Linked DNA regions of Homo sapiens: region 2 is linked to region 1. The links are contacts of gene promoters, found by promoter capture Hi-C in human tissues and cell types (Jung and others, 2019). All regions are on one chromosome and are shown on one strand. Each heading gives the region's core, a stretch centred on a gene start or on the middle of the fragment in contact. The rest is flanking DNA. Distances are from core to core; before and after follow the strand shown.

Evidence for each region. The method cuts DNA at HindIII sites, captures the fragments that hold promoters and counts their contacts. A contact is called where the count stands out against the background at its distance.
Region 2: a fragment that was not itself captured here is called in contact with the fragment with the promoter of ZNF485 in region 1 in 1 of the 25 tissues and cell types used here (H1 embryonic stem cells).

Annotation. Positions count from the first base shown.
Region 1 is chr10:43,603,332-43,608,656 of GRCh38, reverse strand. It overlaps ZNF485 (zinc finger protein 485), which reads right to left and starts at 2,219. Exons shown (of 5, transcript NM_145312.4): 1 at 2,111-2,219; 2 at 1,583-1,660; 3 at 1-43. The coding sequence starts at 1,606. It also overlaps the pseudogene CAP1P2. RefSeq lists a silencer at 1,904-2,183 and an enhancer at 2,464-2,513. The HindIII fragment of the contact is 5,082 bases long and covers 1-4,643 here.
Region 2 is chr10:44,006,127-44,011,451 of GRCh38, reverse strand. No RefSeq gene overlaps it. Among named protein-coding and RNA genes, the nearest start is that of LINC02659, 96 kb to the right of the region's middle. RefSeq lists enhancers at 556-635, 2,766-3,085, 5,072-5,325. The HindIII fragment of the contact is 4,225 bases long and covers 145-4,369 here.

The sequences.
Region 1 (5,325 bases), core at 970-3,469:
TCCGGGTAAAGGCCACAGCCACATCCCCAAATGTCAGCGGTCCCTGCAAAACCAAACCCAATTCTGCTCATCCGGGAACCCCTGAGGGAGGCATCCCAAGAGAAGGAAGCAAGGTGGTCAAAGCCAGCTTCTGACAGTTCCAACAGTGCTCATGGAAACCAACAAGTAAAAGCTGAGGGCTCAGGGGATGTGCGACTCCTCCCTTGAGCAGGTTCTTCCTGCATGCCTGTCCTGCTCCCTCCTCCAGGCCTAGCCTCTGCTCACTCCACCCTTCATGTCACCTCATCAAAAAGGTCTTCTATTTCTCCACCCCATCCTCTGCCACTCAGTCTCGAAACCCATTTCACTTTTCTTCACAGGATTTCTCACCACCTGGCAGGAGAGGTTTGCACTGACTGTCAGCATCCTCTCTAATGTGAGCTCCAGGGGGACAGTGTGGGTCACTGCTGCCTCCCAGTCAAAAACACTGCCTGACACAGAAGTGTTCAAGCTTTATTCAATCAACAAATGAATAGAAACTTTGAAAAGACATGGAAAGTGATTAGCTTTATCCGAGAATTTACAGGGAGTATGATCTGACTCTGGGGCAGAATATTTTTAAAAAAGAAAAAAAAATTGCTTTTCATAAGAGTAACAACTTACTATGTACCAGCCACGGTGCTAAACCCTGAGATACATATCATCTCTCTAAATTTCTGCCGTAACTATATAAAGTAAAATCTATTTCGTAGCTAAAGACACAAAGGTTCAGAGAGTTGGAAGAACTTGCTCAAGGTCCCAGGGCTGGTTGAAGGCACAGTATAAAAGGAAGCCACAAAAAGTGGTAATGAAACTAGAACAAATTGGAATGGCTATGAAATACTAAAAGAAAAAATGAGTAAGCCTTAAAAAAATGAAAAGTGTGTTTCAAATGAAATTACTTGACTTAGAGCAGTAGAAATGTAGGTGATCTTTAATTTTTTTAATTTTATTTGTATAATAGACACTCAAATGTTTATCACTTCCTTTCAAAATACCAATTATTTAATCAGCTTCTCAAAATCCTTCAAAACCTAGTTTTCTCCAGGATAAAAGCAAACTCCAGTCTGGGATTCTAGACCATGAATGTTTCCAACTTTCTCAGACCAGTTTGTTCATGGTCCCGCCATAATGACTTCATTCAGGCAGCGCTTTCCCCTAGTATCCTCTGCAATTATGCAAATCTCATTTATTCTTCAGGAAGAACTAAGGCGCCCACTACTCCACCCCTCCCACCCTACCACACACTAAAGGTCAAGAGAGCACTGCTATCACCCTATGTCTTTATGGCCTACGTCTTTACATGCTAACGTGTATTTTTTTCATCGTCTGCCAGTTTGCAAAGCACTTTTCTGTTTCTAGCACTCTAGAAAACATGGGTAGCAATAATCTACTTGGTGAATGACTACGTAATGGGTAGACAGGACGGAAATCGCGGGACCCATCCAGGATTGGTTCGGGTAGCTTTGTCCACACACAGGGCAGGGCATTGTCCGGGCAAGAGGCATAAACCCCACCTCGCTGAAACACGTGGTTTCTCAAGAAATGGAAAAATCAAACTTGCCTGGATCTGGGCTCTTGGGGCCATCTGTCTCCTGAACTGTTCTCCCAGGCAAGGGCTGAGAATCCTGCGTAAGTCAATCTGGGAAAGAAGAGAGGAAATTGAGGAAGTCCCTCCGTGCCCTAGCCTAGCTAGAATCTGCCCTCTAGACCAGGTCCCCGCCCGCCCGTTCCCTCCACAGGTGGGCAGACAGGTCCAGGTGGGTACGCTCGGGAAGAAAGGAAAGGGAACGGCTGCTGGGATCCGGCCTGGACTGCAGCCAGCTCCACGCCAAACACTTTTGGCAGCACCGGGGGACGGCCTTGTCAGTGGCCCAATCTGTCGGCCGGGGCGCAAGGCTGGAGCGCTCTGTGATGCACCAGCCTCGAGCGGTCGCTCCACACGGCGCAGCCACTGCGGGTGGGCACTGCCCACCGCCGCCTTCCCCTCCCACCCCGGCTCGCCCCTCGACCCGCCCCTGGGAAAGGCGGGGAGCACCCGCCAGGGGCTCGAGGCTTCAGGGACCCAGCCTGACCCCGGCCGCTCACGAACCGAACCGAGCCGGCAGGGCTGCGGAGCTGCACGCCCAGAGAGTCAGCGACCACACCACGCCGTTCGGACAGTAACCACCAGCCAGGGGCTGGTGCAGCGCTCGCACCACGCGGAGACAGGCTGGACCGGAAGCGGAAGTGGCTGAGGCCGCGGAGGCCTCTGGGAAACGTAGTCTGGGCCGCTTGGGGTCTTAGGGGCTCCATCCGCAGAGCAGGTTGGCATCACCTGGGAATCTTTGAAAAGTGAAGGTGCGGGAAGTGGAGAGCGGCTGATCGCAGTCGGGAGGTGATACATTATGACTGACATGCAAAATCTGGTAAAAAATTGGACAGGGCAGTGGGCCGCCTGGAGGCAGTATCCCATACCTCTGACATGCACCGTGGATATGGAGATAGTCCTTCAAAAGCAGGAGCAGCTCCATATGCGCAGGCATTTGACTCGCTGCTTGCCTGCCCTGTGGCAGAGTACTTGAAGATCAGTAAAGAGATTGGGGAAGACGTGCAGAAAGATGTGGAGATGGTACACACAGTTTTGAAGTTGGAGTGAGCTCTCTTGGTTACAGCTTCTCAGTGTCAATAGCCGGCAGGTAATAAGCTTTCCGATCTGTTGGCACCTATCTCAGAGCAGATCAAAGAAGTGATAACCTTTTGGGAGAAGAACCGAGGCAGCAAGTTGTTTAATCAGCTGTCAGCTGTCAGTGAAAGTATCCAGGCCCTAGGCTGGGTGGCTATGGCTCCCAATCCTGGCCCTTATGTGAAAGAAATGAATCATGCTGCTGTGTTTTATACAAACTGAGTCCTTAAAGAGTACAAAGATGTGGATAAGAAGCATGTAGACTGAGTCAAAGCTTATTTAAGTATATGCACAGAGCTGCAGGCTTACATTAAGGAGTTCCATACCACCGGACTGCCTGGAGCAAAACGGGGCCTGTGACAAAAGAACTGAGTGGACTGCCATCTGGACCCTCTGCTGGATCAGCTACTCCTCCCCCACCACCAGGCCCCCCTCCTCCACTAGTCTCTGTCAGTTCAGGCTCAGATGAGTCCGCTTCCCTCTCAGCACTGTTTGCGCAGATTAATCAGGGGGAGAGCATCACACATGCCCTGAAACGTGTATCTGATGACATGAAGACTCACAAGAACCCTACCCTGAAGGCTCAGAGTGGTCCAGTACGCAGTGGCCCCAAGCCATTCTCTGCACCTAAACCCCAAACCAGCCACAAAGAAGGAGCCAGCTGTACTTGAACTGGAGGGCAAGAAGTGGAGAGTGGAAAATCAGGAAAATGTTTCCAATCTGGTGATTGATGACACAGAGCTGAAACAGGCGGCTTACATATACAAGTGTGTCAACACGATGTTGCAAATCAAGGGCAAAATTAACTCCATTACAGTAGATAATTGTAAGAAACTTGGTCTGGTATTCGATGATATGGTGGGCATTGTGGAGATAATCAACAGTAGGGATGTCAAAGTTCAGGTGATGAGTAAAGTGCCAACCATTTCCATCAACAAAACAGATGGCTGCCATGCTTACCTGAGCAAGAATTCCCTGGATTGTGAAATAGCCAGTGCCAAATCTTCTGAGATGAATGTCCTCATTCCTACAGAAGGCGGTGACTTTAATGAATTCCCAGTTCCTGAGCAGTTCAAGACCCTCTGGAATGGGCAGAAGTTTGTCGCCACAGTGACAGAAATTGCTGGATAAGCGAAGTGCCACTGGGTTCTTTGCCCTCCCTTCACACCATGGGATAAATCTGTATCAAGACGGTTCTTTTCTAGATTTCCTCTACCTTTCTGCTCTTAAAACTGCTTCTCTGCTCTGAAAAGCACAGCTACCTGCCTTCACTGAAATATACCTCAGATGTGCAGTGGGATAGCAGGTCAGTTGATCTTCTGCAGGAAGGTGCAGCTTTTCCAAATCAGCTCAACTGCCGACGAGGACTAATGATGCATTTTAGCTTTGAGCTTTGGGGGTTATTCTACCAACAAACAGTCCACTGGGAAGAAAACAGTCCCAGGAATTAACAGATCAGAACGTTCACACTGGTTAATCTTTTTCTGACAATGAGCATGAAGGTAGCAGAAGCTGGTGTGTTTCCAGATGGTTCTTCTAACCAAACTAATTTTTCACTATTGACAAGTGAGGCAAGGATTGCACTGGACCAAAGGCTGAGGCTTGGCCATCTAGCATTCCACGCAAAATTGTTTCCTATAAGCATTCCTTTTATTCACTATTCTATCCTGGGTCTGCCTCAACCATGAGATAGGAGAGTCTCCGGTACTAGCTGCTGTAGCAGTGCCCTTCATCCAGGGCAGTTAAAGGAGTATTCAACCCTTTCTTTCTCTGGGATCCCTGCCCAGCACCTTCCTACAGAGATGAAAAAAAAAAAAAGGAAAAACAACACTCCATTCCAAGGAGTCTGGTATTCCTGAATCCTCCTTCCCTGCTAGGTGCCTGTCACCTGTCTTCACTGCCTCCTTTTCCCTGTCACACTCACCAGCTTATGGCTTCTGTCCAAGCACCTGAACAGGGGACCAAAACCTCCACTGCAAGCTGCTTTTAGGTCTTGATTTATGTAAGAATCTTGCACAGCACTGCTAATGTAAATTTCAGTTTTTTCCCTCTAGGACAAACACTTACCAAAATACGCAACTTTTTTGGTGGGAAGAGAGATTGTCCTGTGATTTCTACCCATTTCCTGATCCTGTGGAAATAAATCTTTATGTACTTAAAGTTATACAGAAAATAGAATGAAATAAATACCAAAAAAAAAAAAAAGCAAAGTGAAGGTACCTGGGTCCCAGCTTCAGAGATTCTGAATTAATTGCCCTAAGTGTGGTCCTGGCATTCGGATTTTTTAAAGCCCCCAAGTGGTTCTAATGTACTGCTTAGGTTGACATCTGCCACCAGAAACTGATACGGAAAGTATGAGAGACATATTTTATGTGCCTTTGGATAGCTATTTGTTTCCAAATAATCCTGTTTTTATTTCATACAAATAAAAAGCATGTTAGAAAAGTACATCACCTAGAACACTAAAAACATTATTTCCTCACTATTTGCTGACATAGAAAATGAAAGTAGGTTGAATCTGTTTTAACAAATGTATTATTTTCTAGGAAAAACATATGTTTCTATTTATTAACTCCAGGAATTGGAAAGCTAAGGGAGGAAAATGTATCTCTCTCATTCAATTAGGGCCTTTTTTTTTAAGA
Region 2 (5,325 bases), core at 1,008-3,507, 400 kb before region 1:
GGCTCCAGTTTTAGAAATGACAGAAAGCAAATGACATCATCCCGGTGGCCTGACAAATACCTTCAACTTATTCCATTATTCTACTTAGCTCTTTAATCTTAAACAAAAGATGGCTAAAACTGTGACTTTCATAGAGTTCCTCCATGGTAATACTACATATGGGTCACTCCATTTCCTTCCTGGGCTAGTAAATACCTCTGCTTTTATGGTGAGGACTTCTGCCAGCTGTAATGAGCTCCCCTGCGTTCCCCAGGGCTGAGAGCAACTGTGTTGGCCCCTAGTGACTCAGCTTCCTGTGCACCTGGTTTCAGGTCTGAGCCCTCAGGGAGCTGACCTGGGGGAAATGGCTCCTCCTTCATGAGATCAGCATGGCTCCTCATGCCATGAGGGGCAGGCACCAAGGCCTGCCCAAGTCTCCTCTGAGCTCACAGAGGGCAGCCCCTGACTGGCTAAGCCAGCCTTATGCCCCATCATGATCATCTGGGCACAGAGCCTGGCCTTCTATGACAGGGACAGAGGGCTGCTGCCAAGAGCTCAGTCCTGGGCTGCTGTCTCTCTGCAAATGGGGAGGAAAGATGTCCTCTTCCAGCCCGTGGAAGCTGGGAAACCTAGCAGATATTCGAATGAGTTCCTAGGACCTAGAGAGCTGATAATCAGGGCTCACAGCTGCTGAACTGAGCTCCCAAGTAGAGCCTCAGCCCAGGTTGGTCCAAGAGTAAAAACAAAGCAGTCCAGAAGACCTAACTAACAGGGAGCTTAAGGGAGCAAGCTAAACTCTACAACACCCTAGGAATTAATACCCAAAATATACATCATGTTAAGAAATAGCTAAAAGCAGTCATGTAGAATTTAAATCTTATCTCACACCTCTTGGAGTAAAATCAAGGTCAGATTTTACTCTGACTTTACTCTTAGATTTTACTCTTCCTCTGTCTTACAGCAGCGAGAGAACTCTGAATGCGCTTGATAGATACAGATGGATATGATTGGTCAGGAATTTGGCAGAATGTCCGTAAGATCAATTGCATGTAGTGCATTGAAAATGCTATGTTCTGGGGTGGAACTGCCTTATTTCAGAATATATGATGCTTGAGGGCTTACAATTATCTGAAAGAAAAAACCCCAGAAATAAGATGTCAACAACTTCATTTTTGTAACCCATATTGATGACTGTGAAAAACTCTTTGGCATCAATAAAACTTGAGTGATTGCCTTTTCCAATTGTCCAAAATGAGAAGCAGACCCAAGCAGGCACATTTCTGCCAAGGGAGATTTCTCTTAATTATCCCTGAACCTCACTGGCTGCAGGGCTTGGTAAACAGCCGCAGCCTCTGCTCTCTGTAACATGACCTCCTGTATAGCACACGCTCATGTGCACAGGCATCTGCACATACATGCACAAAATGCACACCTAAGAAGAGAAACCAGCAGGACCAAACTGGCTTGGAAAGATGACGACGGGACTTGCTAGGTAAGAGTGTGGGCAGAGCACAGGATAGATGACAAATCTTTGCCAAAAGTTTTATAACATGGGACCCAGTTCGCTAAGAGGTCCTCAGCCTCCGTGTTTAGATAAATGAGGGTTTAAATTACTCAAAAGTGACTTGCCTTCTAAAACCACACAGAATTCTTTTTTTTTTTTTTTTGCAATAAAACCTCAAGACTCCCAAATCTCAAAGAAGCAAAAAAGCCATGTCCCTGAGGACTAAAATAGAAAGAGAAGGAAGCGGCAGCCAAGAACATTATTTCCAGCTCACATAGGACCACCCCTCTGTTTGCATACCCGTTATGACTTGGAAAGGAGGTTAAGGGTCCAGTTTAACCCACCAACATTAATATTTTGAGGCCAAGTGGCATCTTCCTGGAGTGGGGGCCGAACAGGCCCGTGGAGAGCGTGCGTTCTTTCTGAACCACGACAAGGCTGCAGTGCCTTCAGTGCTTAAATCCAAGGAGCCAAAGATAATTTCCAAAAGACTGTGCTTTCTAAGGGCAGAAGGTGAAGGGAACAAACAATGCTCCATCTCCCTGAGGACTGGGAAGATTATTAGGTTACCATTTCAAGACAGGAACATTCAGACATGATGTAGTATTTGGACTCAAGAGTGGAAGGCTGAACCCAAAGCAAATCAGTTAAGCTTGAATGTTGGGGAAGTGATTTCTCTTCTCCCAACTTGACTATTTTCTCCCTGTGTTGATTCATTGCATCTACAAACCTTAACACTTTTACCACGTGACTGCTATTTTTCTCTCTATCTTCCCAAGTCCCCTCATTAGAAACCACTGTTGGCCAAACAAGCTAATGAGCGGGACTGTCCTGGCCAAGCCACAGGAGAGACAATTACAGACTTTGACTGCAGGCCGCACACTCACTGGTTCTCATTCTAACCTCCATTCTCTTCCTTCTTTATCCTCCCTCTGTTGGGGTGAACATTTGGCATCAAATGAACCTAGGTACGGTTCTGTGCGCTCACTAGTGCTGACAGTGTAGGCAAGAAACAACTTTCTGAGCCTGTTTTCTCAGATGGGAGATACAACCCACCAGGGTGAGAATTAAATGAGGTGGTTAATAAGGGTAATGCCGTTAACCCACCAGCCCTGAGCTCTATTACACCAGCCCTTTAAAAGCAGAGAGCTTGCCCTGGCTTCCCTGTGGCGTGGGTGGGTACAGAACTCCCAGGGGCTTGTTTCACCAAATTTCCCCACAAAGCCCTGCATAAAACGCCATTGTAGGGCCCAGCTCTGTCTGAGAGAGCCTGTCAGGACAGTTCAACAGCCTTGTTTCCAAATAAGTAGAAATATGAAACAGGCTGGTAAACTTTTGTTTAAAATCTGACCTCTTTTTTAAGATGACCATTGTTTTCCTAAATTCACTTTCCTTCCTTTGCTTCCTGTCCATAAAGAAAGTTCACACTCACAGGCTCGAAACACCTCACAGCATGGAATGCACATGATGTCACCCAGGAGGACCTCTACAGGGGAATTCCAAGTCAGAGCCATGCCACCGTGAGAAGTCACCACGAGTCTTGGGCCACGTGGGTCATGTTCAGATGCTCTGGGCTGACCTGTGAGCCCGAGAGAGAGAGAGAGAGAGAGAGAGAGAAAAGAGGCCACAGAAGGCTCTGTCGCTGATGGGCTTTCCAGATGGCGATTTAAATTATTCTGAGTTGTCTGAAATAACATTGCCCTTACTGCTTTTATGTTTTTCTTATATACTTTTTAATTCTAATAGATAAAAGGCTTTTAAATGATTTTCCATAAAGGTATAAAATTACCCCTGCAAAGAGAAAAAATACTAACGCATATAAATAAACATATTCTGTTTACAGTTTTTTGATTGAAGGAGAGGTCAGGGATGCTTTGATTCCTTTGCAACCCCTCCTCCCTTCATTTTAGAATGTGCCGTCATCTTCTCTTTCTGCTTCCTTCCACCTTTGAAATGCTCCCACATCACCTCTTTGCTGATGGTGTTCCCTGCTCTTCTCTTCCCCCAAGAAGAATTAGTTCTTCCCTGTTGATGGCTTTCTAATTGTTTTATTTACCCCAGCTACAGTATTGATTACTCCCCAATTATTTGCATAAACTCTACTTCTCGACCCACTCAGCTACTTCATGGAGACCTATAATGCTAATACCATAGGAAAGCTTCTGGTCCTGGAAATTAAAAAACAAGAAGTTGAGCCCAGAAACCACACGGCAGGGAAAATGTAGAGTGTGAGAGACAGGGCTGGTGGTGGTATGGGTTGATCTAGGCAGTGGGTGAGTGAGTCTTTCTCAAGACAGTTCATTGAGGGATTTGGAAAGAAAGCACAGGTGTCCCACTGGCTATTAGGCATGCATGTGGATTTGGGCGCCTTGGTCTGGTGGGGTAACACTCCTCACATCACACCAGCTGGGAATAAGTGGGAATTACCTTCTCAGTCTGGAGCTCTTTGTAAATGTTTGTACTATTCTTTCCATGAAGGCAAAGCTAGCGAAGAGGGACAAAACCGTGGCCCCAAGAGACACTCTTTCCTGGGAAGGAACTTGAAAGAGGGAGGTTCTCCAGGGCTGCCTGCAATGGTCTCTTCATCCATCCAACCAACTTGAGTTTAGTCAGCACCAGTTGTGGGTTAGGGACAGTGGTAAGTTCTAGGAAGGGAGGGCAGATTCTCAGACCTCTTTTCTAGAGGAAGATGAAAGAGGTCTTCTTGACAAATTTCCCAAACCCAAAGAAGAAAGTAGAGTGAAAACAAGTGAGGCAGATGGGGCGAGGACCCCCAGTCGCAAATCTGGGTTTGTCATAGTCAGGGCAAGAAGAGCAGGTCCCCCTGGCAAGTCCTGACTGGGGTTTCTCTGGGGGCAGTTCCCAGGAATACAACCAGGAAATGATTATCTCAGTGTTTAACCCTAAATGTGGGCCCCAGCACTGTGAGGAAGAAGGAGAGCCAAGTCAGGTGTGACATTTGCACATAGAGTCACTGCTGGGGGATTGTGTAAGCAGGGAGGTGCCTTAAGTGGGTGCTGGTTTTCCCCAACCCACAGAATGTGCACAGTTGGGAAAGAATTCCTCCACAGCGCTTGTGACACAGAAGCCAAAACACTTACTTTTTTCAAAATGAATGTGTTGGGAAGCTGGGAGAAAGAGAGAGGCTGGGGACAAGAGAGAGAGGAACTGATTCTACTCCATTTGGGGAGGAAAGAGTAGAGGGTTCAGAGAGGAAGAAAACATCTCGATAAACCTAGAAGGGGGATATGAGCGTGTCACCTGGAAAGGGAAGGGCAAGAGCAACCTTGGCAGAGAAAACTCCATGAAGTGTGGCCAGAGCACAGGCTTTGAGAAAGACACTGAGAAATAAGATCAGACAGGTGGAGAGGCTACACCTCAGAGGGCCGCGCAGGACGCACTAGGACGTTGTGTTTCTTTGGATAGAATGATCTCCCTTAACCTTCAAACTCCTTAAGGACCCTGATCTCCTATCCCCTAAGGGTCTTAGGTCATAGCCTAAAGGGAACCCCTGTGCACATAATTTATTTTAAATATTTTTAAATATTCCAGTTTTATCTTCTACTCTGTAAGTACGTTGATATTTGTTTTAATGTTCAAAAATAGTTCTAAGCTTCACGTAAAATGGGTGCTCCAGAGTAAGACAGGACATCTCCCAGGAGTCTTTTGGTGCCCTAGAACCCAGGGAAGTGCCCCCAGGGGGTCACGCAGCTCAGCCTGAGAAGAACGGTTACATGCAACCCGGAGTCCTCGAAGCATTTTAAGAAGCAGAGTAATTTTAGTAAATTAAGAAGCCACCTAGGTTATGAGATTTGGGGCTGATGGGCAGTGGGACAGTACAA